Regions from separate parts of the Homo sapiens genome. Here regions 1, 2, 3, 4, 5 and 6 are each linked to region 7. The links are contacts of gene promoters, found by promoter capture Hi-C in human tissues and cell types (Jung and others, 2019). All regions are on one chromosome and are shown on one strand. Each heading gives the region's core, a stretch centred on a gene start or on the middle of the fragment in contact. The rest is flanking DNA. Distances are from core to core; before and after follow the strand shown.

Region 1 (4,155 bases), core at 1,076-3,575, 470 kb after region 7:
GAGATAAACCAAGTCCCAGTCAAGCATATTCCTTCCCCTCAGCCCTTCCCAGTTGTAGCCCTCCTGGCCCAGACCCCAAAAGTGGATTAACTTTGCTTGATTGATTTGGGAGCTGGGGGAGTGACTGCCCAGCCCCTTACCATTCAACCCAAACCCTACAAAGCGATCTCCAAACACTCAGAACTGGAATTTCCCCAAGCCAATTCCTACCTTTCTAGGAAGACTCTGGCCACCTACCTTTGTCCATGGACCTCCTCTGAGCAGCCAGGGGAAGCTGTGGTGGGGAAAAGGGAGCAAGCAGGGCACAAGGGTTCTGTGGATTGCTACCCTCTGCTCTCCAGTCTTCCAGTAGACTTCCAGGGCATGTCTGTCTGCCTGGCACATTCACTGATTCTCCCCTCCCAGCATCAGGGAGGGTTGGGCAGAGGAGGAGGCTTGGCTCTGCCCCAGGATACTCACACCAAACAAAGCCATGGGGGAGGAGGCATCAGTACCGACAGTGATTGGATCACTGGAGCTTCTGGAGGCTGGGGGGTTCTGATGGGCTCAGAGGTCTGAAATCTGAGGTGGAGGACACTGGGGCAGCCAAAGGAATGAATGGGGTGAGCCTCAGCGTGGCCAGGAATGGGCCATAGAGAACCAGGACTTAGTGCTGCAGTAGAAGCTGGGCACAGAAGGGTGCAGAGAAGGGTGGCGGCTGGAGGCAGGGAGAGCAGGGAGGAGGCACCCACCATGGTCAGACCCACCATGGTCAGAAGAGCCGGTGGTTTGAGCCAGAGCAAGCTGAGGCTGAGAGGAGTGGACTGATTGGGAGAGGACAAGGGAGGAGGGAGGAGACAAAGGTCGTGTTTGGATTCCTGCCTTCTGGGGGTGTGAGGTCAGAAGACAGTCTCTGGTGCCACAGTTTCATACCTATGCCAAGTGTCACCCCTACAGACACCTGCTGTTCACTTACACACTTGGCATCACCTCACAGTGTCCCTCTGTTTGGTAAGTGGTCCCCTTGGGCACAGGAAGAAATAGGAAGTATGAGGATTCCCGGGAGGAGTGGGGTCCAGGCTGTTCAGAGCAGAAATTCTGAGAGGCCTGCCACTCAGAACCCCCAAATAAGGAACAGCATTTCAGCGTCTTGGGAATAGTTAGGGGGAGGGCGCAAAGCAGTGGGCTGAGGGGGTCTGGAGATACAGATGTGGCAGTCAGGCACACATAGGTGGAGAATGTGTGTGAACATGGGCGAAGTGCCGGTCACTGTTGAAACAAACCTATGATGAGTACCAGAGGTTCATTATACTATTCACTTGTCTATGTTTCAAAATTTTCATAATACAGGCTGGGTACGGTAGCTCATGCCTGTAATCCCAGCACTGTGGGTGGCCAGGGTGGGTGGATCACTTGAGGTCAGGAGTTCGAGACCAGCCTAGCCAAAATGGTGAAACCCCATCTCTACTAAAAAGACAAAAATTAGCCGGGTCTGGTGGTGGACGCCTGTAATCCCAGCTAATTCCAGCTATTCGGGAGGCTGAGGCAGTAGAATCACTTGAACCTGGGAGGCGGAGGCTGCAGTGAGCCCAGATCGCGCCACTGCACTCCAGCCTGGGTGACAGAGACTCTGTCTCCAAAAAAGAAAAAAAAGAAAAGAAAGAAAAAGAAAAGAAAAGAAAATTTCCATAATAGAATGTCAAAAGAGACAAAAACTGTGTGTGGCTGTGTATCTGCATGCGGTGAGTGTGCAGTCAGCTTAAAGACCTCTGAGAGTGTGTGAGTGCATAGGTGTGGGTCCACCACCATGTGCACTCATGTGTGCAAACCGCAGCATGCCCGCAGTGGGGGACAGCACGTAGGCAGGGCAGGGGTGCTCAAGGCAAAGGGAGAAGCTTCTATTCTGACCAGACCCTCCACGCACACCCCAGCATCTTGCAGAGGGATTCCCCTCTTGATCACAGCGTGCCCAGGCCATTGGCACTGTGGTGACCATGTCACGGAACGTGTGAGACTGGGAAGCTATGCGCCTGAACTTGTGACAAGGTGTGTTGGTGTGTGGATGCGGCTATTTGTATGTGGAAGCCCAGTGCCGAGTGTGGGTGTCGGGGGCACGACTTGTGAGGCTGGGCGGGGCTCTGGTCCGGAGTCCGGTGGCGGTAGAGCCCTCATTTTCGCACGATTCCCCCGCAGCTTTCCAGCGCCCCCTGCCCCCGAAGCTGGCTGGAAAGAAGGTGGGAGACACCTGTTGGGGAGCTGAGAGCGGCAGATCCCACAGGGGCCTCTCCCCATGCGCCCCGCCCGCCCTGCCCCGCTCGGGTCCCGCCCCCGCGGCCGCCGCAAGCAGCGCGGCGAGTGAGCGCACAGCCGCCAGAGGAGCACAGGGCGGCGGGAGCGCACCGCCGGGACCCAGCCGAGGCCAGGGCCGCCTGGGAGGCGGGCGGAGCAAAGGCAGCGCCGTGGAGACGCCAGGGGCAGCGGGCCACGCCAGGCAGGTGAGTGCGGCCGCGGGGCGCCCGGAGCGAGGGAGCCGGGCGTCGCGACTCTGCCGCCTCCTGCCCGTCCGGTCCCGTGCCCGTCCCAGGCTCTGCCCCACCGCCCTCCATCCCCGCGACTCCTTGGTCCCTGTCCTCTGCCCCTCTCTCCGGCTGTTTTTCCCGTCCCTGTCTCTGTCGGTCCCTCTCTATTTAACTGTCTCTTTCTAATCTCTCTCTTCTGTCCGTTTCCTGCTGTCTTGGTCTTTCCCTATATCTCAACCCCTGTCTATTTGTCTATCTCCGCCTCTGTCTCTCCGTCTCTGTCCGTCTCTGAGCTACCTGTCACTTAGGTCTTTTATCTGTTGCTCCTCTACCTCTCTTACCCTCCCTGTCTCTCTACCCAATATTCTATCTCTCTCCATCTCTGTCTGTCTACCCTGTCTCTGCCTGATACCTCTGCCTCTCTCCATCTTGGTCCCTCTCAGTCTCTGTGTCACCCCACTTCTGTCTCTCCTTGTCACCCTGTTCCATCTCTATTTTCACATCTCCCTGTCATTGTCTCTGTCGGACATCCCCCTTCTCCTTTTCTTTCTCTCTCCCTTCCTTCACCATTTCCCGATGTCTCTTGGTCCCCGTCACCCTCTCTGATCTGCTCACTCTTCCAGTCCTCAGTCAATGGCCATTTGATTCCCCGGGTCTGGTCCTGTTTCTGTTCACCTCTGGGAAAGCCATCTTTCTGCCTCTTTCCTTGTGACCCCTGCACTTCCCTGAATCCATGACCACCTCCCCCTGTGTTGGGGGGCTCTGGGGGCAGTAGGGCCCAGCACCCATAATTCCCTCCCCCACAGGCGGCCCTTTCCTCGGGGTCCCGCCTGGTACCAGGGACCCCCTCAGCTGGGGGACTGCGCCTGGAAGCTGTCATGGAGGCCCTGCAGAAGCAGCAGGCAGCTCGGCTGGCCCAGGGGGTGGGGCCATTGGCCCCTGCATGCCCGCTGCTGCCACCGCAGCCTCCCCTGCCTGACCACCGGACCCTACAGGCCCCTGAGGGGGCCTTGGGGAATGTTGGGGCTGAGGAAGAGGAAGATGCTGAAGAAGATGAGGAGAAGCGGGAGGAAGCCGGGGCAGAGGAGGAGGCAGCTGAGGAGAGCCGTCCAGGGGCCCAGGGCCCCAGCTCGCCTTCTAGCCAGCCCCCTGGACTCCATCCCCACGAGTGGACCTACGAGGAACAATTCAAGCAGGTAGGACCTATGCCCTCAATGTCCGGCCCTCTTCCCTATCTCTCTCTTCTGGCAAAAGCACAGCCAGGTGATTAGCAGCCCACCCACCCCCACCACCCTCTGCAAGATGAAAAGAGACACAGAGACACGGAGACCTATAGAAAGACAGAGAGAAGATTGGAGGATAGTGACAGGGAGGGAAAGACAGATGCCTGGCTAATTTTTTAAAATTTCTTTTGTAAAGACAAGGTTTTCTTGTATTGCCCAGGCCGGTCTCGAACTCTTGACTTCAGGTAATCCTCCCACCTCAGCTTCCCAAAGTGCTGAGATTACAGGGATGAGCCACCATGCCCAGCCAGGTGTAGGGAAGGCAGTCTAGGGGCTGGGGATTCCAATGCCAGCACCACCCTGCCTACCTTCTCACACATCAAGTCACAAGGTCATATTCCAGTGACCAGTGGGGGTGACCCAGTTGCTTCCTC
Region 2 (3,956 bases), core at 1,199-3,698, 310 kb after region 7:
ATTTTATTAAAGGCTAAAGTATAAAGGTGGAAGGATGCAATAAAAATCTTCAGGTAGGGAGGATGGTGACCTGACACCCTAAGAACTTGGTGGCAGACTATAAGCCTAGAAGCTCCATACTTGATACGGGGGTGTGTATTACTTCCTGTACCTATTGAAACAAATTACCACAAACTTAGTGGCTTGGAAAAACACAAACTTATTCCCTTACAGCCTTGCATTCTTAGGTTATTCTTCAGTTACACAGAGACTTCAGAGGAGAACATCTATTCCAAGTTGTATAAAAATTAATACTTTGGTAGTCTAAAATGTGTTTTAAAAAATTGGTAGATGCTATGGTTTGAATGGTTCCCCTCCAAAATTCATGTGTTGCAACTTAATCCCCGTTATGGTGGTATTAAGAGTTTCGGACCCTTTGGGAAGTGATTAAGTCATGAAGGCTCTCCCTCATGAACGGATTAATGCCCTTACAGAAGAGCCTTCAGAGAGAGTTTGTCTCTTTTTATTCATCTGCCTTCACCTATGTGAGGACACAGCATTTGTCCCTTCTGGAGCACACAGCAAGATGCCATCTTGGATACAGAAAGAACAGCAAACAACAAACACCGCCAAACAGACACCAAACCTGCCAGCACCTTGATTTTAGATCTCCCAGCCTTCAGAACTGTAAGAAATACATCTCTCTTATTTATAAATTACCCAGTCTGTGGCATCTTGTTACAGGAACGCAAGCAGACTAAGATAGTAGAGGACACATTTAAGTTTGTGTGCTGCTGTGTATTCACATTTTTAAAAGCTAAAACACATTTCAAAATTAAATTAAAACCAAACACTTGTGAAACAGCTGAAATATTTTAGCTAAATTTTACAGAAGACCACATTAGAAAAAACTGGTTGACTCAATATAAATGATCCTTAGTGTAATTCAATTTCTAGTATTCTCGTATGTCTACAAAATTGGTCTTAGTCCTTTCACTATCTTGAAACTAAGAAAACATATGTCTTACAAGGAGGATATTTGCACTTAATAATCACTGAAAAGTTGGGCAGCATTCATGTGGTCTCATCATATTTGTCTTCTTTGCCACCTGTTAAAGATCTGGAGCACAAAAGCAGGACAGTGGAAATCGTCAGATAAGTTTATGTTAAGAAATAGCTGTGTATAATACTGTCCTGGTCATGGAAAATTAAAGGTCAGAAAACAGACACTTTCAGACTATGCATGTGAACTATGTGTTAACAGTGCTGTCTCCCTGCACCTACCATACCATCTTATGGTACCGTTTGAGGCTGAACATAATTCAAATTGGAATAGGATAAGGATTTCCTTCACTCCTTACAAGATAAAAAGGTCATAGTACATTTAAAAATATTTTCCCCAGATATATTATGCAAATTCTGAAATGGTAGAATAAGCAATCATTTCCTACTCCCTGAAGCATGAACTCCTAGTTGAGAACATCACTAACAAGTTGAAAGCATACCTGCCCACGCATGTCTTATGCACTTTCACTTGTGCACATACAAAACCATATAACTCCTTGTACAAGAAAACTTAATTACTAGGCAAGACGCCTCCACCAGCTCTAGCAGCAAGCCTATTTATGGAAACTCTTCCTTAGAGAATATCTTATATCAAAATGATATTGCCAGCCAGCCATGCAGGGAGATTACCTACAGAAGCTACTCTGGCACTGACTCGAGCACAGAGGAAATAGCTGTCAAACCCACTAGCTGCTGGCTTCTTGGAGGCAGTGTTTAAAAACTATCTCAAAGTCTATGCTAAAAAATATAGAGCAGAAATTTCAGCAAGTAGATGGAGAGTTTTACTGGTCTAAGAAAAGTTTTAATGATACCTAAAAATTACAAATGGGCTAGAACAGGAAAGGCAACATTATACATCAATTAAAAAGTTAAACTGGAGTTCAGGTTGTATTCCAGAAACCGCTATTCACTTTATTTGATATTCTTTATAAGGGAAGCTTGAGGTTATTAAGTCACTGCCCTCCCAATGCAGTATTACATTTTCTGTAATCTGTAGGAAATAATATCAGGAAACTGATCAAATTCCAAGTCCCTAAATATTACCAGAACAACTTATTGATAAGAAAAAGATTATTTTATTTCTTACAGTGATAAGGGAGACATAATATGGTAGTTTCTTGGAGGAGAATGAACAAGATTTGATTTATTCAGATTTTGAAGTCTAGTTTAAGGCAGGTCTGTCAGAGCAGGGGTGAGTGCAATAGAGAGGGCTTAATTAGGATAGGGTAAGGGCTATGATAGAATATTAGGATTGGTGAAAAAAGAAAAGAGGTCGTTTTGAAGCCAGGAGCACAAAGTCTTGGGATGTGAAGACAATTGAAATTAAAGTCATGTTAACGTAGATAGTAAGCTGTGTAGGAGTAAATGGTTTCAGTTCTCAATATTAAGAGTCCGGAGAAGAGAGGATGGATTTTAATAAGTTATCGGGCCCTTTCATGAAATCCATGTGGATAAGATGGCGCAGTGTAACTTGCTTCCTTTCACGCTTATGACTAAACCTGGTGGTCCTGGTTGAAGCATCAGCCAAGTATATCACTGTCAGGATTTAAGTTCTAAGGACTGAACTGGGATGGGGCAGCAAGGAGCAGGAAGATCCAAAGTGAATTTAAACAGAATTCTTAAGCAAAGCTGAGAGTCAAGCTGAAAAATGAGGATCAATTGGGAATTCTGGAGGCAAGAGCAATGCTACAAATAAGAAAAGAGATAGGTCAGAAACAGGTCAGAAACAAAACGCAACCTAGATGAACACAGTTTGCAGCTAAATCAGGAAGGGCTTAGATGGATGTTTTCTGGGATTGGAGTTCAAGTATTTGAGGCTTTTCTGATGCCTGGTGCTTGGATAAGTCAGACTAGCTTAAAGATATAGGTTTGGAGCAGGGATCCATCCCTCATCCTACCCCATCCCCAAACCCTACCACTGCTATGTAGGCCTCTCCCAATCAAACAGTAGGTTGGGTGTGGAGCTTTCTCAAGTTTGTTTTGCATAAGACTTGGCATGTTTGAGAAGCTCTTCCAAACATGGAAGAAGAGCTACTTCCCATGAATTCATAAATGCCTCTCTAAGTCAGACCCTTACCTCTGCCTCAGGGATTGGAGTAGTCTATATCGCTGTTGGAAGTCTAGTACTTCCACTTCATGCTCTTGCTCTCTACCTCTAGTGACAGGATGAGTCACTGGACTGGAAGGCAGATTGGATCTGTATTTTTAGCCATATGGCATTCAAATATCTCTGTGACCTTGAATCAGTCCAAGAAATAATCCTCAACTTTTCATAAGCGGGGTATGGGATTTGGTGGGGTGAGGGAGGCAAACTGCTAGAGAATAGAGGAGCTGTGGATGGAGTGAACTAATGAATTGTTGAGAGATGTGTGTCTACCAGAAAACAAACCACGAGTGGTTATTATTATACGAAATTGCTGAGAAATCCTCCCCTGTCCCTCCTCTACCCTACTTACCCCAAAATCACTGAGTCTTGCTCTCATTTTTCAGGCCTCTGACATGTGACCATCCACTGATTTGCTAACTGCCTCTGTGATCTCCACTAATAATTATCCACTGAGCACTTCAGTGAGTTTTGTAACCCAGCTCTCGTGCAAGTTGGAGGACTTCATTTACTCCCTCAGTTTCATCATTCCTCCTTCTTCAGGAAAGAATCTCACATTCCAGAGCTAGCTCATGTACCCTGCTTCCTGTCCCATTATGGGTGGAGATTTGGACATTTTTGCCTAGAACCCATGATTTCAGGAGGTTCTTCTCTCCCATGTGGGGACAATGAATGTAATTTCAGCCCTTCTATTCTTACTGTGCCTGGGAAATGTCACATTAATAATAGAAATAATACAGAGTTTTGCAGATAACTGCTGTACTTACCAACCTATTGATTGCAAGAGTGGAATTCACTGGCACATGCA
Region 3 (3,924 bases), core at 690-3,189, 310 kb before region 7:
CTTCAAGTCAGGACTTTAATATTAGGATAATGATATTAAACTTTATCTCAGAGAATCCTACAAAGATTTTGAGTAGGGGAAAATGTGATAAACTGGAAGTTCAGAAACATTAATATGATAGATTTACAGGGGAACGGAGTGCAGACAGAAAGACCACTTAAAAGACGGCTATAATAGTCAACACTTAAAATGATGAAAGGCTGAACTAAGAAGTGGTAGAAAATAGAAAGGAGAGGCCCGGCATGGTGGCTCACGCTTGTAATCCCAGAACTTTGGGAGGCCAAGGCGAGTGGACCATTTGAGGTCAGGAGTTCAAGACCGGCCTGGCCAATATGGCGAAACCCCGTCTCTACTAAAAATACGAAAATTAGCTGGGCATGGTGGTGCATGCCTGTAATCCCAGCTTCTTGGGAGGCTGAGGCATGAGAATCACTTGAACCAGGAGGTGGAGGTTGCTGTGAGCTGAGATCGTGCCACTGCACTCCAGCCTGGGCAACAGAGCAAGACTCTGTCAAAAAAAAAAAAAAAAGAAAGAAAGAAAAAGAAAAGAAAATAGAAAGGAGAGGGTAGACAACCAAGATGTTAGAACTGGCCAGTATTTATGTACTGTAGATTTTCCAACCAGAATAGGCCTGAAGATTCTGAATATTCAAAATAGTGTTACCTGCCAAATGATTGGGTTTAGCACTGTCGTTTTGTAAATTCAGTGGAATAGGCCAAAATCTTGGGTAAACCAGTATTAATTGCTTACTGCTCAAAATAGCAGAAGCAGTAAATCTACCTGCAATAGGTAGTCCTAGCCTACCTGTAGGGATTTACCAGGAAAACTGGTTTCAACTCTTTTTCCTTGGTAAAAGGTTTGGCTTTTGAAATAACACACATTTATAGATGAAGTTCTTAATTATCTTTCTGATTGAAAGTGTCAAGCTCTTATAGATTATTTTGATTATTTTTTACACATTTACCAGTGTTTATCATGTGGCAGATACTGTCCTAAATGCTTTATAAATATTACCTAATTTAATCCTTACAGCAACCTTATGTGGCAGCACTTTTATTATTATCCCCATTTTACAGAGGAGGAACTGTAGCAGAGAAATTAAGAGATTTGCCCAAGATAACGTGGTAAGTGGTGGAGCTAGGATTCAAACCTAGACGGTATGACTCCAGAATTCATGCTCTTGACTACTATACTTCCCATATGGTATTTATTTCACTGCATTTATGGCAGATATTTTATATTTATTGGTGCTATTAAATATGCTGTTAATTAATGTTTCCCCTCGCTAAACCATAATCTCGCTAAGAGCAGAAATTCTGTCTAGTTTTGTTGCCATTGTATTGCCATACCTAGCACAGTGGCTCGCACTTATTTAATAATCAATAAATATTTGTCGAATGAATTGATCAGTCTTTATTGATGATTATTACATTTTTCATTTGCCTGGAACTTACCACACCCTAAAGTATTCTGGCTCTCCATATTTTCTGTTCATAAGAATATGCAGAGCAGTTGATTATCTTCTGGGTCCTTTAGCCCTTTAGCTCTCCTGAGGGTAGCAGAGGACTCCCTGGTTTTCCTTTGGATGGAAGTTTCCTGACTTTCTACTTCTGGAACCAGGGCCAGTGTCCTTGACATGGGCTTCCTCCAGGATGAAATCGGACAACTGCCCAATGACAGCAAGTAAAGAAAGTATACTCGCCTATAATCCCAGCACTTTGGGAGGCCAAGGCGGGTGGATCACGAGGTCAGCTGGAGAACATACTGGCTAACGCAGTGGAACCCCGTCTCTACTAAAAAAAAATACAAAAAATTAGCCAGGTGTGGTGGCGGGCACCTGTAGTCCCAGCTACTTGGGAGGCTGAGGCAGGAGAATGGCGTGAACCTGCGAAGCGGAGCTTGCAGTGAGCCCAGATCGCGCCACTGCACTCCAGCCTGGGCAACGGAGCGAGACTCCGTGTTACTAAAAAAAAAAAAAAAGAAAGAAAGTACACTGTGACCTTCAATCAGTGAACTGATTTCATTCTGCACTTTCTCCATTCCTCAAAAGGAAGCCTAAATCTAAATCTTCCTTTTTCAAAATTTCACATTAGAAATAATTTGTTGTTGTTGTTCTTACATAACAGGCAGTTCCATTCTGAAAGATGGCTGGAGTGTGATTATTCCTGCTCCCTTTAGGATTTTTTTTTTTTTTAAGATAGAGTTTCCCTCTGTCACCCAGGTTGGACTGCAATAGCACAATCTTGGCTCACTGCAACCACCACCTCCCAGGCTCACGCGATTCTTGTCCCTCAACCTCCCAAGTAGCTGGGACTATAGGCATGTGTCACCATGCCTGGCTAATTTATTTATTTATTTATTTATTTATTTATTTATTTATTTATTTTATTTTTAGTAGAGACAGGTTTTGCCATGTTGGCCAAGCTAGTCTTGAACTCCTGGCCTCAAGTGATCTGCCGGCCTTGGACTCTCACAGTGCTGGGATTACAGGTGTGAGCCACCACGCCCGGCCTCCCTTTAGAATCTTGATTCACCAAAGGAAAGCACAGAAATGGTATGGAAATCCTCCCTTACTACAGAGACAGATCCATTTGTTCTGTCCACAAAAAGGCTGCAAAGGAGGACCTTATCTGCCTCAGCAGCCTTTTTTCACACTGATCACCTCTTTTTAGCAGGAGGCAGTTATGAAGAATGGGGAGAGAAGGAAAGGTACACAAGCTTTACTGGTGAATTTCCAAATATAAAAGTTAAGAGAGTACTCAAATTAGGATTTTCAGATGATAAAACAGTGGAGCTTGTACTTCTAAGTACAAAGTATTTACTTTTGAAAAATATATTTCCTTTCCTGATCAGTTGTTTGGTAGGTTAACAATCTGATTGCCAGGTTGATCTGCCATATGTGCATGTATACACACACACACACACACACACACACACACACTTCAGAGGTAATAATAATGACATACTCAGATACATTTTCCTGAGTTTACCTACGTTCATCTTGTCTGTCCTCACTTGGGCTTTTAAATAGAGACATTGCAGAGTAGACCAACTATAATTCCATGGAATTTCTATAAAGGAAATAAAGATTCAGAATATGAGAATTTCTCATGCTGATACTGTGTCATTCAAACACATTCTTAAGAAACTTGGAACTTGATCCCTGAAGTCCAAAATGATCTATCTCTAAGACACATATGGTAGTTTGGAATTCACTTTATTTATCTTCATCATAAAGTTATAGTTTCAAAGCTTGGGAAACAGATTTCATTTCCTGACAACTAAGTTGAAGTTGATGACTACAATTGTCAGAAAAGTCATCTGAAACCTAGAAACAGGTGAAATAAATTATTGGATGATCTTTTAGTACAGTTTTGTGTTTATATCTTTGATTAGTTTTCTATTGACTGGACTATTTTATAACTCGTTAGGGCAGAGGTTAACTTATAGATTTTCATCTAGTAGTGATAAAAATGTTTTATGTCTGGTGGAAAAGATGACTCCAAAATTTATGACTTATTGCACTTTAGGACCTTAATTAGTTTTGTATATCATTCAGAAATCGTATTTTAACATTCCTTTATTAAATTGCCTATAAATATTTAGCTCTTAATTTTTCATTTGAACTGATCTTAATATCTTACTGGTTCCCTCATTAATTAATAAATAAAATATTGGAGACCTATTAATTTCGTATTTATATAAAAGTCAAATTTTTTAATACTTGGAAAAATTATACTTTATCAAACCCCACGATTTGCTATACAGACATATCCTTCTTTGCTTCCTATTTTTCTCTCCATTCTTAACCCAACTCAGAAAAGGCCAATAAAGTATATGTATTTTAATCAATTTCTTTCAGGTCCCCTAAAGTACAGATGAGTCAAGACTAGAAAACTAGAGGTTACCTTGCTTAACTTCCT
Region 4 (4,104 bases), core at 989-3,488, 410 kb after region 7:
CTGAGGTACAGAGGTTAAGTCGCCTGCCCAGGATAGACAACTAGAAAAAAGGCAGAGCTGGCGTTCCTGTCTGGGCAGTTTGGCTCCAGAATATCTACTCTGAACTATTACACATACCACTTCTCTGAGTTGACCTATCTCCTAATTACAAATGGAGAACAGTACAGCAAGGCCAGATGTGGAGAAGCAGCCCATGGAAATAGGGAAAGCCACTACTTTTGGGTGCTGGCCATGTGCGAGTCTCCAAGCTGAGTCCTTTCTTGGCACTACATCACTGCACCCTCAAACGATCCCATGAGGTATCATTAGTACCATTCTATGTATAAGGAATTTGAAGCACAGAGGAGAATGACCTCCCAAGTCAACTCAACTGGTGAGTGGCAAAGCTGGGATTGCAGTCTAAGCCTGACTGATGGGCAGCACTTGGACTGAGGGCTGGGGGCTGGGAAGTCTAGTTGGGGTAGAAAAGCTCAGCTTGCTAGAAAGAGCTGGGGAAAAAACAAGAGAGGAAGCTGGTGGCCAAAGGTGGGGTCCTAACACTTGAACCCAGACACAAAGACACACCCTAGAGGGCTTCCAGCTTCCTGGGCCTCTGCAGTAGAAGGAGCATCAGCTTCCCCAGAGCCTCAAAGAGGGAGTTTACTCAGGCCTCAGTTTTCCCAACAACAGAGGAGTAGAGAAGGGGATTGGGCTACAGCAATGCCCACCCTACTCCTATTCCCAGGGGAGTATCAGATGCCAGGACCTGGTGATATTGAAAGGAAATGAGGAATGTAGGAAGAGTGCTGGGGATCTGGAGGGTAGGGGTAGAGGCAGGACAAGGAACCTTGTGACAGGCAGGGCTCCTGGAAAGGAGTGGGGCCAGGCGTCTGATCGGCAGGTGGCAGAGGACCTCTGAAGAGCAAAGCATCTGAGGGCAGCAAGGCAGCATCAACTCTCAAAAGGCCCATTTCTGAGGGACACTTCCATCTCCCAAGGGGCCAGGGGCAGGCAGGGCAGGGTTGGAGGAAAACAGCAAGGACAGAACCTCTAAGGATCAGGGTAGATGAGGGAATCAGGCCTCCCCACCCTACTTCTAGGGCCTTTGGGTCTTCCCCGTGGCTCCAGGGGGATGCAGAAGATGTGAGCCACCCTCGGCTCCAACCTGGCAGAGGTGGGAAAGCTTTCACCCCAGCCACAGGAACACTACCATTCTGGGACAACCAGATCTCCTAGGGCTTTTGATCTCAGAATCCCAGTCCCTGGAAATCTGAGCCTAACACAATCCAAACCCCAATCACCACGTCGACCTCATTCCTGCCAAACCATCATTTCAAGGGTCCTCTCCCAAGAGGAAGCCAGCCCTTCTGTCAGGGCCTCAACACTGCAAAGTGCTCATCAGTTGAGGAACCCCCATTCCTGATAGGATGTCCCAATGCCTATTATGTCCTCATTGCTGACAGGACACCCATTAATGTCAAGGTCCCCCCATTACTATCAAGCCACCATTCCTCTCAGGAAACCCTACCACTGTCAGGAACACTTAAACCTGTGAGGCAGGACAGCAGCACTGCACAACTCCAGGGGGCACCATCCTCTCTGTAGTCTACGTAAATGGCTCCTGGTATGGCAGCACTGAGTGCCAGAGTATCACTCTGAATGTTAGTGTAAGGCCCCCAGTAGTCTCAGCGCTGCCATCACATAGGTTTCCAGCCCTGGGAAAACCCCTCACGTCTAAAGTGATGCCTCATCACTGTCTGCAACCCAGAACACTTATTCATTCCAGGCACTATTCTAGGTGCTGGTGATACGATAGTGAACAAGATAGATATGGTCTTGGTCTTCATGAAGCTTCCCCCTCTCCTCCAAAAACAAAAGGCAAATAAACAAAAGTGTGGATCAGGATTCTTACTTGCAAGCCACTGAAACTCACTGGCTGATTCCAACAGAAAAGGAGTTTATTAAAAAGACCCTGGGAAGATGCAGAAAATAGCGAGAATAAGTGAGCCTAGGCAGCCAGAACCACTCCCAGAGCATACGGTACAGTACAGATGGTCCAGATAGGCCTCCAAGACAGCATGGTGGCACCACCAAAAGGCGATGCCAAGTGGCCAGGACAATGCTTATGTCCAGACAACTGGGGCCCTTGCCCTGCATCCCATGTTTTAGATGACCCTGATCTGGCCCTCCTCTAATCATATCTCTGGACACAGGAAAAAAAAGTCCACAGGACGAAGGGAGCACCCACCCAGAACTCATTCTTTTCTTCTAGACCATATTTCAGGAATTGAAAAACAGAGAATTTCCTGCCCAAATGCCCCCAAGTAGCTTCCAATATCATTATGGGCCTCTTCCTCAGATTTGTTCTTCCTAGGATAGACTATGTTACTGATATACACACTACCAGGTCCAGAGGGTAGCCAAGAAGTAGCTATTTGCAGGGAATGTAGAAGGAGCTTGTATGTATGGGGCTGGAGTGTTTACACCCAGACACGTGAGACCCTTCATGGTGCAGGATAGAACTGTGGATAGGAAGAGGAGAGGGACAAGTGGAGGGCTGGTGATGGGCTCTCCCCTTACCACCTCATTCCATCATGGATCTCCAAGGAGTTCAAGAATTCTCAACTTGAACCTAGCCTCCAAGTTGTTTTGAAAGTATATATTTTGGCCGGGCATGGTGGCTCACGCCTTTAATCCCAGCACTTTGGGAGGCCAAGGCGGGTGGATCACCTGAGGTCAGGAGTTCGAGACCAGCTTGGCCAACATGGCAAAACCCTTTCTCTACTAAAAATACAAAAATTAGCCAGGTATGGTGGCGCATGCCTGTAATCCCAGCTACTTGGGAGGCTGAGGCAGGAGAATCTCTTGAACCCAGGAGGCAAAGGTTGCAGTGAGCTGAGATTGTGCCATTGCACTCCAGCCTGGGCAACAGAGCAAAACTCTGTCTCAAAAAAAAAAAAAGAGAGAAAGAAAGAAAGTATATTTTTCAAGGTAAGGAAGACAGACACATTTTTTATTTGACAACTTGTTCGCTTGATTTTTACCTTTTAAATATTTAGATAGTGGGCCTCCATTTGTACTATTGCCCCAAGCCTCACCAGTGTTAGGTGGTCAGCCTGCCAGATGCCACCTCTGGAATCATAGCTACAGCTGCCCCTGTAAAATAGACATCACTTTCACCACCACGGCTACCACCACCAAAAATGGATTCTCTAATAACCCCACTCCTTCACATCACTACTAGTTTCCTATTCACAGTCCTATGATTAGCAAAGCCTAGGTCATGTGTCCAAGTCCTAGTGCAGAGGGGGCTGGGAAAATTAGTATGTGACTTTTGGGGATTCTATGATGGAAAGCAAAGTCTACCAGTAACCAAGAGTAATATAATAGGAAGTTTCTCAAACACAGAAAGGGGCTAACTTTGTGGGCAATGAAAATAATAATAATAAATATCTCTATAGTCCACACTATGGCTATCCAAGATCAACATACATCCTTCTTCCCAAACCCTAGACTTCTTAGAAAATTGAGCGTATCACCTAACATAATATCACCTTTGTTTATACAGCCAAAAAAAATTCACCCCCCCGAAAGACAGACAACTCAGAGCCTTAGAAATTACCACATCCATCTTAGTCTGTTCAGGTAGTCATAACAAAATTCCATAGACTGTGTAGCTTAAACAACAGAAATTTATTTTCTCACAGTTCTGAAGGTTAGAAGTCCACGATCAAAAGTGCCAAGATGGGCCAGGCTCAGTGGTTCATGACTGTAATCCCTGCACTTTGGGAGGCCAAAGCAGGAGGATCATTTCAGCCCAGGAATTTGAGACCAGTCTGGGCAATGTCTCCACAAAAAAAAAAAAAAAAAAAAAAATAGAAATAATTAGCCGGGTGTGGTGGCAGGTGCCTGTAGTCCCAGTTACTTGGGAAGCTGAGCTGGGAGGAACTCTCGAGCCTGGGAGGTTGAGACTGCAGTGAGCCGTGACCATGACACTGCACTCCATCCTGGGCAACAGCAAGACCCTGCCTCAAAAAAAAAGTGCCAAGATAGTCACTTTCTGGTGAGGGCTTTTTTTGTGGCTTGCAACCAGCCAGCCACCTTCTTACTATGTGACAGAGAGAG
Region 5 (4,157 bases), core at 20-2,519, 330 kb before region 7:
CTCTCTTGCTGTCTTCCTTTGGCCTTATACATTTAAGTGCTCTGTTGTTGGATGCATTTATATTCACTAGTGTTATATCCTATTTATGAATTGGCCCCTTTATCATTAAATAATGACCTTTCTGTCTTTTATGACAGATTTTTCTGACATAAGCATAGCCACCCTTGCCCTCTTTTGGTTACCATTTGCATGGAGTATCTTTTTACATCCCTTCACTTTCAGCCTATGTATGTCCTTAAAGTTAAAGTGACTCTCTTGTGGGTAGCATATTGTTAGATCTTATTTTTTTGTTTTGTTTTGTTTTTTCATTCAACCATTCTAGTCAGTCTTTTGATGGGAGAATTCAATCTATTTACATTTAAAGTAATTTAAGATAGGTATTTACTATTGCCATTTTGTTGTTTTCTGAGTGTTTTGTAGTTCCTTTGTTCCTCTCTTGCTGTCTTCCTTTGTGATCTGATGACTTTTGTAGTGGTGTGCTTTGATTCCTATCTTTCTCTTTTCTGTATCTACTAGAGGCTTTTTCTTTGTGGTTACCATTTGTACAAATTGTGACCAAGATGAAACTGGGATGTTCAGCTAGGTTTACCCAAGGATTTGAGAGTAAACAGATTTAGATTATGTACACTAATTTGGATAGAGTTGACATTTTTGCAATATTAGCCCCCTATCTGGTAACATGCTATATTCCTGTGAGAGAGACAGAGAGATAGCTGTTGGTGTCCTCCTGGGACGCCACTCCTTTGTGCATGATGATCATGTCTATATAGTCAGCTTACCAGCAATACATAAGCAAATGGCTATGAGTCTTCTCTGGACTATGCTTACAACCCAGCTATGCAGCTTGTAGTTTGTTCTACTGTACTAGTACATTTCTTCCTTCTTATATTTTATTCTTGTGATTATTAGGATGAATGGTTACTGGATGATTACTAGTTGAATAAACATGGGAGAAGTTTTATACTTATGTGAGATGGGATTGATATATTTTGTGGAGCTTTATTTTGACTGGTTAGTGGCTTATTTACAACTGTGTGATACAAGGGCTTCTGCTAATCATTGAAGCTTAGCTTCTCTGAAGCAGTGGAATATGCATAGCTCAGATAATTTAGTCACATCTAGGATTTAGAGCTGGTGTATGGCATAGGCCCTTTGTGCAGGGACTTTCTCAAGGGGCACAGATAGCTACCTGATTAAGGCAGGGTACCAGAGAAGTACTGGTGTTTCTACTAGTGTTGAGATTCTCCAGTCCTTGGACAGGCTATGTTCATACTCAATATATTAATGGATTACTGAATAAAATCAGTTTCTCCCATGCCATTTATCCCTTCAGACCAGTAAAACGTTTCTATTTGTTTAAAAATATTATTTTATAACTTTTGATAAAGTTATAATATTTTCTTACTGGATTTCACATTTCTTATTAAATTTAATCCTAAATATCCCTGATTATTTTTTAACCTAACAAGGGTCTAACAGCCTCTGCCAGCAACTTATCTGGGTGAAACAGGCCATTCTCTCACTAGTTCTGAGGGATACCTGGGGTTCAGCCTCTATGCAACAACTGAATACTGAACACATATCTCCCTCTTTGAGTTGAAGAGTAAAGTAAAGCAGTAGATCTCAAGGTTCAGAGCCTGAGTTGCTAAAGACAGATTGAGACTCCGAAGTAGGGGCAGGATTAACCTTCACCTTGTTCTGGCTCTTTAATGACAGACCTGCCATGAAGAAAGAAGAAGGAGAAAGGAAAGTAGGATTTTCACCAGGAGAAGAGGAATTGGGGGCTAGAAAGCCAGATTTCCTAAGAGGTCTACGATGAAGGAAAAGAAGGAATGATGAGAAAAGTGGTTAAAACATCACTTTGCACAACCATCTAAGAGAATAAACTAAATGTTTGAGAGAGAAAAAAGGCAGGCTGTAAGGAAAGAAAGTAACCAGTCTTGTTTGAGATCATAAAGGCAGGAAGAAAGTTTTCAGACTGGATAATAAAGATTAATTCAAGATTCCCTGGGGCATGTAAATACTGTAAGAGAAGACTGGGTGACTAAGTGTTTTCCCCATTACTTGTTAATTCAAAGGTTATTCCTGTTTGGCTGAAACGAGAATGACAAAATGTGAATTATGGGTGAGAGGTTAGAATGACAGAAGGTTGGAAATTAGTTGAGACAAGGAGAGTCTAGGAAATAGTCTAGTTGAAGAAGTCCTAGCTATGGAACTCAAGGGGACAAACACCTACTTCTAGCCACTGGTGACTGTGGAAAATTCATTCTCCATTAGGAACTGAGGGTTGAATCTACAGCCTATTCAAAGACTGGTTTCAAAGGACCTGTCCTAAAAGCTGGCCTGCGCATGGTGAAATAACTGAACTAAAAGGGCCAGACATCTTGGTGAAGTGAGGCAAGCTGGTGTTATAAAATGTGCAGTAGACTTAAAGTTAAAAAATATAGAAAGCTCCCATAGTGGTTAAGAACACAGACAATTGAGTCAGGCTGTCAGGGTTCAAATCTTAGTCTTCCACTTCAGAGCCTGAGTTGGCAAAGACAGATTGAGACTCCAAAGTCAGGGCAGGATTAACCTTCACCTTGTTTTGGTTCTTTGATGACAGACCTGCCACAAAGAAAGAAGGAAAAAGGAAAATAGGATTTTCACCAGGAGGAGAAGAGGAATTGGGGGCTAGAAAGCCAGATTTCTTAGCCTTGGGAAAGTAACTTAACCTGAGATTCATTTTATTTTTCTGTAAGATGGAAATGATAATAATATCTACTCATAAGGTTATTGGGAGGATTAATGAGTTAAGGCACACAAAATATTTGAAAACAATTCCTAATAATTAAAAATGCTCAGGACATTTTAGCTATTCTAGACTGGACTCTGCAACTAAATTGTTAAGTGACCTAGGGCAAGTCACTTTTCATTTCTTGGCTTTAGTTTCTTCATGTGTAAAATGGGGTAGTAAAACCTACTGTATATACTAATAGGGCTAAATGAGATGATAAATGTAAAGTGCCTATCTGATTCCTGACAAATCAAAAGTACACATTTTCAACCTGAGAAAAGGTGAATGAAAAACAAATAAAAAATGAGAACCACACAAAAGTACACATTAGGCTGGGTGCAATAGCTCATGCCTGTAATCCCAACACATTGAGAGGCCAAGGTGGGAGGCTCACTTGAGGCCAGGAGTTCAAGACCAGCCTGGTCAAGGTAGTGAGACCCTGTCTCTACAAAAAAAATTTTTTTAATGTAGCTGGCATGGTGCCACACACCTGTAGTCCTAGCTACATGGGAGGCTAAGGTGGAAGAATTGCTTGAGCCCAGTAGTTGGAGGCTGCAGTGAGCTTGATCATGCCACTGCACTTCAGCCTGAGTGACAGAGGGAGACCCTGCCTCTAACAACAACCAAAAAAAGAGTACACATTAAATGTTATATTCTGTTATTTATCTTATAATATGTCAAGGAGATTCCATATGCATCATTGATATAGTTGTCTGTGCCCAAAATAGATTTTGAACTTTCAGCTACCTTCTGTGGATGCACTAGGCTAATCCAGGTAGTGGAAAAGGAAGGGTACAAAAGCCATAGTCTAGTGAGGAGAATTCTGTCTACCTGGTAAAAAGGTAGTAGAAGTCTCAAAATAGAAGAAGCCTCTGTTTAAGGATATAATGCTTAGAGTTTTGACTCAAATGCCAGGGTGAAAGACTTAGCTCTTACGCAACATATGTAATACCACCTCGGGTTTTAGGGGTTAAAGCTACAGAAGATTGGCGATTATCCTAGCAAGGAAATGGCAGAAACTAAAATGGAAAATGAGCTCTGTAAGATGAAACAAAAGAAAGTAGCACGCTGAAATTTAAGTAACCAGGAAAAGAAGGAGGAGGGCAGAAAAGGAATGAAGGCCAGTTAGTCAGGTGGCAATCAGGCTTAGGAGATTCTGAACAAATATTTCCTTGCTCACAATGGTGAATTGATCACAAATGGGATTTTCCAGCTAATGCAAGAACAATGAGATGATCTTCCGGAGTGCAAGTCTCTTAACTACTAGATTAGTCAAGGCTTACTCTCCATATACTACTATACTCACAGTTCCATTAAGCCCAGGTGCTGGCAGGGCAAATTTAGCAATGACCCCTTGCTGTAGTTCCAGATTAGCAGGCCT
Region 6 (3,909 bases), core at 888-3,387, 340 kb after region 7:
TAGAACTGTTACAGCCACATAGAGGGCAGCAGCAGCTGCAGGGAGCCGGAGCTGTTTGGATAGGTAATATGGTGCTCTGCTCACCTCTTTTTCAACTTATTGGCGAGGAAGAGGGTCCCACTTTAGGATTCTGGGGATGGCTGAACACCCTACACCCAACACTGGACAGAAGAGATTGACAGCATTTTACTACTCACATGTACATTCACCACTCACAGAAGGAGGACTCCGCACACTATGCAGGGCCGCATGAGGTTGCACTCAGGAAAAGAGGGAAAAAACAAGGGCCATAGGAGGCAGGTTTTATAATAACATGATGAGGTGTTGGTGCCTCAGGGAGGATGTGATTGGCTTGTTTGAACAATTCTATGGATTGGGTACAGCTGGTCCAGCTGATAGAGAAACTAGTGAGTGGGGGTGAACATAACTGGGCAGAGCTGGTGAACTCATGGTTAGGCCTTTGGAGTCCTTTAAGGTTCTAAGATATCAAGGCAGCATGTTTTAGGCCTAATAATACTTACAGGGCAGCTCAGTGACAGCAGCAAGATGGCTGATTAGAAACACCTGGCATTTGTGTCCACTACAAAAAGGAACAAGGCAATGAATAAACAGCTAAGATTTGACTGCAGTATTGAGGGGAGAGCGGTGGAGTGCAGTGGGGGAGTGGAGATGCGCCTGTGGTGACGGGAGCAGTGAGGAGGCACCCAGCCTCTGAAGCCCCACCTCCCTCGCCAGATTGGGTTAGCCTAGAATCAGGTAGGACTTCCCTTTGAGGGGAAAAGGTAAGCAGAAGATCCTCCCCAGTGCCTGCTGCCACTGCAAACACCCACAGTCCTTACTACAGGAGAATCCCACAGTCCTCACAAGTCCTGAGCCCAGTATAGAGAGCTGCCTAATATTCACACAGCTACATTGCCCTGCATTAGAAGAGCAAGATGTGTACTGCCTATCCCCCGCCAATCCCCTGTGAGCCAAGCTGCTGCAGCGTGATGCCATCTTGAGACAAAAGCCACCTCTGAAGTGTACCCTGCTCTGGGGGCCAGTAGCCACTGCACCTCCCCAGCACTGTGGCTCCATCTTCATTATGTCAAGCCCACAAGGGTTGCTGAATGCCGCAATCCCAGGTGCATGGAACCTGGGACCAGGATCAGCTGTGACTTGGGTCCTGCACAGCAGGGAAAGCAATCCCTGCTGCCTATACTTCCAGCCAGAGGAACAGTCTGCCAGTTCACCTAGGGCAAACCCACTCCTAAGCTGGTGAACCCGCCCTTAAGCCAGCCAAGCCACTGTGTGTCCTGCCCCAAGCAGGAGCTGTCCCCAAACCACCAAACAACTGATATGCCCACAGGCTGGTGGAGTAGCTACACGTCCACACCCAGAGCCTGAGAAACAGGCCCCATGTCCGTTACCCTGTTCCTGCCCAAGGCTCCATGCCTGCTATCAAGGTCTGAGAAACATCCCTGCAGGGCTACTCTTGGCAAAGATGCACCCAGGCCAGCTGAGCAGCCTTGTGCCTATGCTCCTGGCCTGATGAATAGCCCCATGGGAGACTCAGCAAACATATCCCCAAGCCAGCCAAGCAGACTTGCGATGTCATCTTGGACCTGAGAAATAGCCCTGTGGGCTGCCCTCAGCAGACATACACCAAAACCAGCTAAGAAACAATATGGCTATGTCCCAGTCCTGAGAAATAGCCCATGGACCACCCCTGCCAGGTACACCCCAAGGCAGACTGAGCAACCACACATGTTCTCCTAACCAGAGTAATAGCCCTATGGCCCTAATCCCAGCAAGCCAGACCCCAAACTGGCCAACACACCATGTGCATATATATGCACCACTAACCTGAGAAACAGCCCAGCAAGTCTACCCCCAGCAAAGGAGCACCACCACTTCCATAAACTATTACAGCCTAGCCCACTGAGACACATGCAAACATCACTAGCATGGATTACAACTGACGAAACTATATAGAGACTACACTTTTGCATCCACCTAGAACCAAAGCCAATGCACTTCACCAAACCAACACCCCAAGACCCATCCATATGAATAAGCCTTTCCCTATGAAATCTAACCCATAAAATGAGAAAAGGTGACTGTTCCACCAGATTCGTAGAACTCAACATAGGGACACATCAAACATGAAAAAGCAAGGAAATATGAAATCTCCAAAGGAGATTATCCCTGTTTGCACATGACATATTATACATAGAAAACCCCAAACTATACCCTGCCAAAAATGTTAGAGATGATAAACACATTCAGCAAAGTTGCAGGATACAAAATCAACATACAAAATCAGTAGCATTTCTATATGTGAACACCAAACTAGCTGAAAAAGAAATCAGGAAAGCAATCACATTTACAAAAGCTACAAAAAAAAAAAAACTAGAAATAAATTTAACCAAAGAAGTGTAGGATCTCTACAAAGAAATCTATGAAAAACACTGAGGGGCAGGGTGCAGTGGCTCACACCTGTAATCCCAGCACTTTGGGAGACCGAAGTGGGTGGCTCATGAGGTCAGGAGTTCAAGACCAGCCTGGCCAACATGGTGAAACGCTGTCTCTGCTAAAAATACAAAAAGTGCCTAAGTGTGGTGGCGGGTGCCTGTAATCCCAGCTACTCAGGAAGCTGAGGCAGGAGAATTGCTTGAACCTGGGGGTTGAGGTTGCAGTGAGCCAAGTCACGCCACTGCACTGCAGCCTGGGTGACAGAGCAAGACTCCATCTCAAAAAAGAAAAGAAAAGAAAAGAAAAACACTGATGAAGGAATCTGAAGAGGATAAAAGCAAATAAGAAGACATTCCATGCTCACAGACTGGATGAATTAATATTCTTAAAATGACCATTGTACCCAGAGTGATCTACAGAGTCAATGCAATCCCTATGAAAATACCAATGACATTCTTCACAGAAATAGAAAAAAAACCCTTAAAATTTATATGCAACCATAGAAGACCTCGAATAGCCAAAATCAATCCTGAGCAAAAAGAACAAAGCTGGAGGCATCACACTGCTTGACTTCAAAATATACTACAAAGCTCTAGTAGGCAAAACAGCATGGCACTACCATAAAGGTGACACATAGACCAATGGAACAGACTAGAGAACCAAGAAATAAATCCATGAATTTACAGCCAACTGATTTTCAACAAAAGCACCAGGAACATACTCTGGGGGAAAAACACTCTCTTCTTAAGTGGCAAAATAGAATATCCATATGCAGAAGAATGAATACTCACCATACAAAAAAATCGGGCCAGGCACAGTGGCTCACACCTGTAATCCCAGCACTTCGGGAGGCCAAGGTGGTTGGATCACCTGAGGTCGGGAGTTCGGGACCAGCCTGACCAACATGGCAAAACCCCATCTCTACTAAAAATACAAAATTAGCCAGGCGTGGTGGTGCACTGCTATCATCCCAGCTACTCAGGAGGCTGAGGCACAAGAATCACTTGAACCTGGGAGGCAGAGGTTGCAGTGAGCTGAGATCATGCCACTGCCCTCCAGCCTGGGCAACAAGAGCGAAACTTTGAGAAAGAAAGAGAGAAAGAGATCAACTCAAAATTAATTACAGGGTGAAGAGTAAGACCAAAAACTTTAAAACTACCAGAAAAAAACATAAGAGAAATGCTTCAGGACATTGGTCTGGTAATACGTTTTATGAATAAGACCTCAAAAGCACAGGCAACAAGAGCAAAAATAAACAAATGAGATTATACCAAACTGAAAAGCTTCTGCACAGCAAGGAAATAATCAACAGAGTGAATAGACAACCAACAGAATGGGTAAAAATATTAACAAACTATTCATCTAACAGGTGATTTATATCCAGATTATACAGGCTGAGCACAATGGCACACACCTGCAATCCCAGCTGCTATTGGGTGGCTGAGGCAGGAAGAT
Region 7 (3,685 bases), core at 1,186-3,685:
GTAGCAGCGTTGCTGATTGCCACTGAACTCAGGCTGGAAAAGTTAGCAAGTTTTCACCAAGTCAGGTCCTGGACTAGAATAAACAAAGGCTCACTGCTTGAGAGAAGTTGGCTGAAGGGTATAGTGTTAAGGGGGATGTGACTACATGGCAAGGGCCAAGTCACAAGGAATGAGATTCTTGTTGAAGGGGTTGGACATTATCCCTAGGGTAATAGGGTTTTTTTGTTTGTTTGTTTGAGACAGCGTCTCCCTCTGTTGTCCAGGCTGGAGTGCAATGGCATGATCTCGGCTCACTGCAACCTCCGCCTCCCGGGTTCAAGCAATTCTCCTGCCTCAGCCTCCTTAGTAGCTGGGATTACAGGCATGCGCCACCATACCTGGCTAATTTTTTTGTTTTTTGTAGAGACAGGGTTTCACCATGTTGGTCAGGCTGATCTCGAACTCCAGACCTCGTGATCTGCCCGCCTGAGCCTCCCAAAGTGCTGGGATTACAGGCGTGAGCCACTGTGCCCGGCCTATGAAGGGTTTTTTTCCCTTCCCATGAAGAATTTTAAGATAAAACATCACATTGGCCAGGCACAGTGACTCATACCTGTGATCCCAGCACTTTGGGAGGCTGAGGTGGGAGGATCACTTGAGCCCAGGAGTTGACCAGCCTGGGCAACATGGTAAGACCCTATCTCTACAAAAAAGAAAAAAATAACAGTAATCACATTAATGTTTTAGTTAGAGCTGTCTTGCTGCAATGTGGAGAAGGGATAGTAGGGAGACACAGGAGGCTGGGAGGACAGTGAGAAGGCTGCCTCAGTGATCCTGGAGAAGGGATGAGGTCTGAACTGAGATAAGGGGCTATGGGGATGAAGGTGGAAGAATAACTCAACTTTTTTTAAAAATTAACATATTCCTTTATTCGTTTGGTCAGTATGTGAACCTCAAATATATGCTAGGTGCTGAGGATATCATGAAGAAAACAGAATTCCCTGACCTCAATGAGCTCACATTCTACTCGGAGGGGATAAACCATAAATACGTGTAGAATTTCAGATGCTGATGAGTTGTGCTATGGAAGAAATTAAGGAAGTGAGGGGAAATTTTTCCAGGGGGTGTGGTGGTGGGAGGTGCTGAACTAGTAAAGTAGGGGATTGCAGGAAGCCTTGCTGATGTTACAGTTGAGCTTCAATATGAAGGTGATGGAGATCCATTTCGGCATCGGGAACTGAAGCTGACAGAGGAGATGGCAAATGCAAAGGTCCTGAGGCAGAACTGCTGTGGATGGAACAGAGTTAGGGAAGCAAAGAAGTGGCAGCTAGATGAATCAGAAGGGGAAGAGGCAGATAGTGTGCAGGGCCATGTAGAGCCAATGCAAGAACTTTTACTCTGAGATGAGAAACCAGTGGACGGGTTTTGTTTCTTTTTGAGACAGAGTCTTGCTCTGTTGCCTAGGCTGGAGTGCAGTAGCACGATCTCAGCTCACTGTAGCCTCTGCCTCCTGGCTTCAAGCAATTGTCCAGTCTCAGCCTCCTCAGTAGCTGGGACTACAGGTACACATCGCCACGCCTGGCTAAATTTTGTAATTTTTAGTAGAGTTGGGGTTTCAGCATGTTGGCCAGGCTGGTCTCCAATTCCTGACTTCAACTGATTCTCCAGCCTCAGCCTCCCAAAGTGCTGGGCTTACAGGTGTGAGTCATCGTGCCTGGCATTTTTTTTTTTTTTTTTGAGAGGGAGTCTTGCTCTGTTGCCCAGGCTGGAGTGCAGTGGTGCAATCTCGGCTCACTGCAACCTCTGCCTCCTGGGTTCGAGTGATTCTCCTGCCTCAGCCTCCCAGGTATCTGGGATCACAGGCGCCCGCCACCACTCCCGGGTAACTTTTGTATTTTCAGTAGAGACGGCGTTTCGTCATATTGGCCGGGCTGGTCTTGAACTCCTGACCTTAGGTGATCCACCTGCCTTGACCTCCCAAAGTGCTGGGATTACAGGTGTGAACCACTGGGCCCAGCCTCCCCTCCTCCACTCCGAAGGATTATTTGCTTAATTATTCAGTCGTAAGATTTAGTTACAGGCTTTGAAAGGAGGAGTAATGAAATCTCAGTTGGACTCAGCTAAGCAAAAAAGGGAAAATAAGTATTATCTCCATTTTACAGATGAGGTAATGCCTAATGATGACAATATGTGCGGCCAAGCTAGGATTCAAGTCAAGTTTGACTCCAGCAGCCGTGCTCTTAGTCGTAACCATGAATGGACAGTGGTTCCCTGAACTCTTCCTCCAGCTTGGTCCCCTGTCCCCAATTTTCAATTACTAAATATCCCATCAAACTGGGGCCAGCCCCACGCTCCTGGCCAAACTTCCACCGAGGTGCCGGCAGATGGCGATGGAGCCACCGACGGGCCACTCTGTCTGGCGCACGCATCTCTGTGCTGCCAGGTCGCAGGCGCCGCCGCCGCCGCACTTCCGGGTGCCATTGCAGGTGAGCCAGGGTCTCCCGAGAACCTCACCCCCCGGTATTCCCCTCACCCTGAAGTAAGGGAGTCTCCCTCTTCCCCTCAGCTCCTAACCAAGGTGCTCAGTACCGCGGCTAGGGTGCCCAGCGGGAGGCTGGGTAGTTACCGGAGGAGGCAGAGCCGGTCGCACGCCTGGGTCCCAGCGGAGGCCCAGTCGACTCTCGACCCGGGCCCCAGCCTCCTTGCGTGGCGAAGGTCGTGCCTCAGGTCTCCTGGCGAACCTGGCCGCCCGGAAGCGGAGAGTGACTCCTCCCCTTCGTCCCCTCGGTGCCCGCCAGGCGGCGCCGTCGGCTGGGCCCGGATTCCCCTGCGGCTTCGATCCCTTTCCACTGGGTATTGAGATTGGCGAGGGGAGAGGCGCAGAAACGGCGTGTAAGAGAGCCTGACTACCAATTGGAATAAGTTTCCCTCCTGACTGTTCACATGTACAGGCAGCATTAGCATTTCCTGCCTGTACATGTGAACGTTCCTATGCTCTACCCCTCGAAGATCCTGATTCAGTAGATCTGGGGTGGGACCTCATGAAACGGCGTCTCCCTCTGTTGTCCAGACTCTAGTGCAGTGGTTCAATCTCGGCTCACTGCAACCTCCGCCTCCCCGATTCAAGCGATTCTCCTGCGTCAGCCTCCCCAGTAGCTGAGACTACAGGTGCCCGCCACCCATTTTTGTATTTTTAGTAGGGACGGGGTTTCGCCATTTTGGCCAGGCTGGTCTCGAACTCCTCACCTCAGGTGATCCGCCCGCCTCGGCCTCCCAAAGTGCTGGGATTACAGGCGTGAGCCACCATGCCCAGCCTGGAAATAGGAGGAGAGTAATATTGCGAGGGGTTGGCTGTGAAATGGTTTATCTCCAGGAAGGTTTCCGGGAGGAAGTGATTCTAGCTGGGCTTGTATTCAGGGACCAGAATATCCACTGGTTCTTTGCCCCACAGTAATGAATTTACTTCCCCACCCCTATCAGGATGCAGAAAGCCTCAGTGTTGCTCTTCCTGGCCTGGGTCTGCTTCCTCTTCTACGCTGGCATTGCCCTCTTCACCAGTGGCTTCCTGCTCACCCGTTTGGAGCTCACCAACCATAGCAGCTGCCAAGAGCCCCCAGGCCCTGGGTCCCTGCCATGGGGGAGCCAAGGGAAACCTGGGGCCTGCTGGATGGCTTCCCGATTTTCGCGGGTTGTGTTGGTGCTGATA

Evidence for each region. The method cuts DNA at HindIII sites, captures the fragments that hold promoters and counts their contacts. A contact is called where the count stands out against the background at its distance.
Region 1: a contact is called between the fragment with the promoter of ARID3C here and the fragment with the promoter of PIGO in region 7, in 1 of the 25 tissues and cell types used here (IMR-90 fibroblasts).
Region 2: a fragment that was not itself captured here is called in contact with the fragment with the promoter of PIGO in region 7 in 1 of the 25 tissues and cell types used here (thymus).
Region 3: a fragment that was not itself captured here is called in contact with the fragment with the promoter of PIGO in region 7 in 1 of the 25 tissues and cell types used here (thymus).
Region 4: a contact is called between a fragment that was not itself captured here and the fragment with the promoter of PIGO in region 7, in 1 of the 25 tissues and cell types used here (spleen).
Region 5: a contact is called between a fragment that was not itself captured here and the fragment with the promoter of PIGO in region 7, in 1 of the 25 tissues and cell types used here (bladder).
Region 6: a fragment that was not itself captured here is called in contact with the fragment with the promoter of PIGO in region 7 in 1 of the 25 tissues and cell types used here (hippocampus).

What each region holds. Positions count from the first base shown.
Region 1 is chr9:34,627,236-34,631,390 of GRCh38, reverse strand. ARID3C (AT-rich interaction domain 3C) reads left to right here and starts at 2,325. Exons shown (of 8, transcript NM_001017363.4): 1 at 2,325-2,474; 2 at 3,305-3,694. The coding sequence starts at 3,377. RefSeq lists silencers at 2,207-2,366, 2,417-2,516. The HindIII fragment of the contact is 10,650 bases long and covers 1-4,155 here.
Region 2 is chr9:34,781,809-34,785,764 of GRCh38, reverse strand. It overlaps a transcript of PHF24 not described here. Among named protein-coding and RNA genes, the nearest start is that of SPATA31F1, 54 kb to the right of the region's middle. The HindIII fragment of the contact is 3,511 bases long and covers 693-3,956 here.
Region 3 is chr9:35,408,075-35,411,998 of GRCh38, reverse strand. It overlaps the pseudogene ATP8B5P. Among named protein-coding and RNA genes, the nearest start is that of RUSC2, 80 kb to the left of the region's middle. The HindIII fragment of the contact is 4,062 bases long and covers 1-3,924 here.
Region 4 is chr9:34,681,902-34,686,005 of GRCh38, reverse strand. It overlaps a transcript of PHF24 not described here. Among named protein-coding and RNA genes, the nearest start is that of CCL19, 7.3 kb to the left of the region's middle. The HindIII fragment of the contact is 6,606 bases long and covers 1-4,104 here.
Region 5 is chr9:35,424,727-35,428,883 of GRCh38, reverse strand. It overlaps the pseudogene ATP8B5P. Among named protein-coding and RNA genes, the nearest start is that of RUSC2, 63 kb to the left of the region's middle. The HindIII fragment of the contact is 5,245 bases long and covers 1-3,891 here.
Region 6 is chr9:34,755,750-34,759,658 of GRCh38, reverse strand. It overlaps a transcript of PHF24 not described here. Among named protein-coding and RNA genes, the nearest start is that of SPATA31F1, 28 kb to the right of the region's middle. The HindIII fragment of the contact is 4,947 bases long and covers 1-3,909 here.
Region 7 is chr9:35,095,341-35,099,025 of GRCh38, reverse strand. It overlaps PIGO (phosphatidylinositol glycan anchor biosynthesis class O), which reads left to right and starts at 2,435. Exons shown (of 11, transcript NM_032634.4): 1 at 2,435-2,871; 2 at 3,460-3,685. The coding sequence starts at 3,461. PIGO-AS1 (PIGO antisense RNA 1) reads right to left here and starts at 2,722. Exons shown (of 2, transcript NR_186491.1): 1 at 2,606-2,722; 2 at 882-1,266. RefSeq lists an enhancer at 2,429-2,768. The HindIII fragment of the contact is 8,015 bases long and covers 710-3,685 here.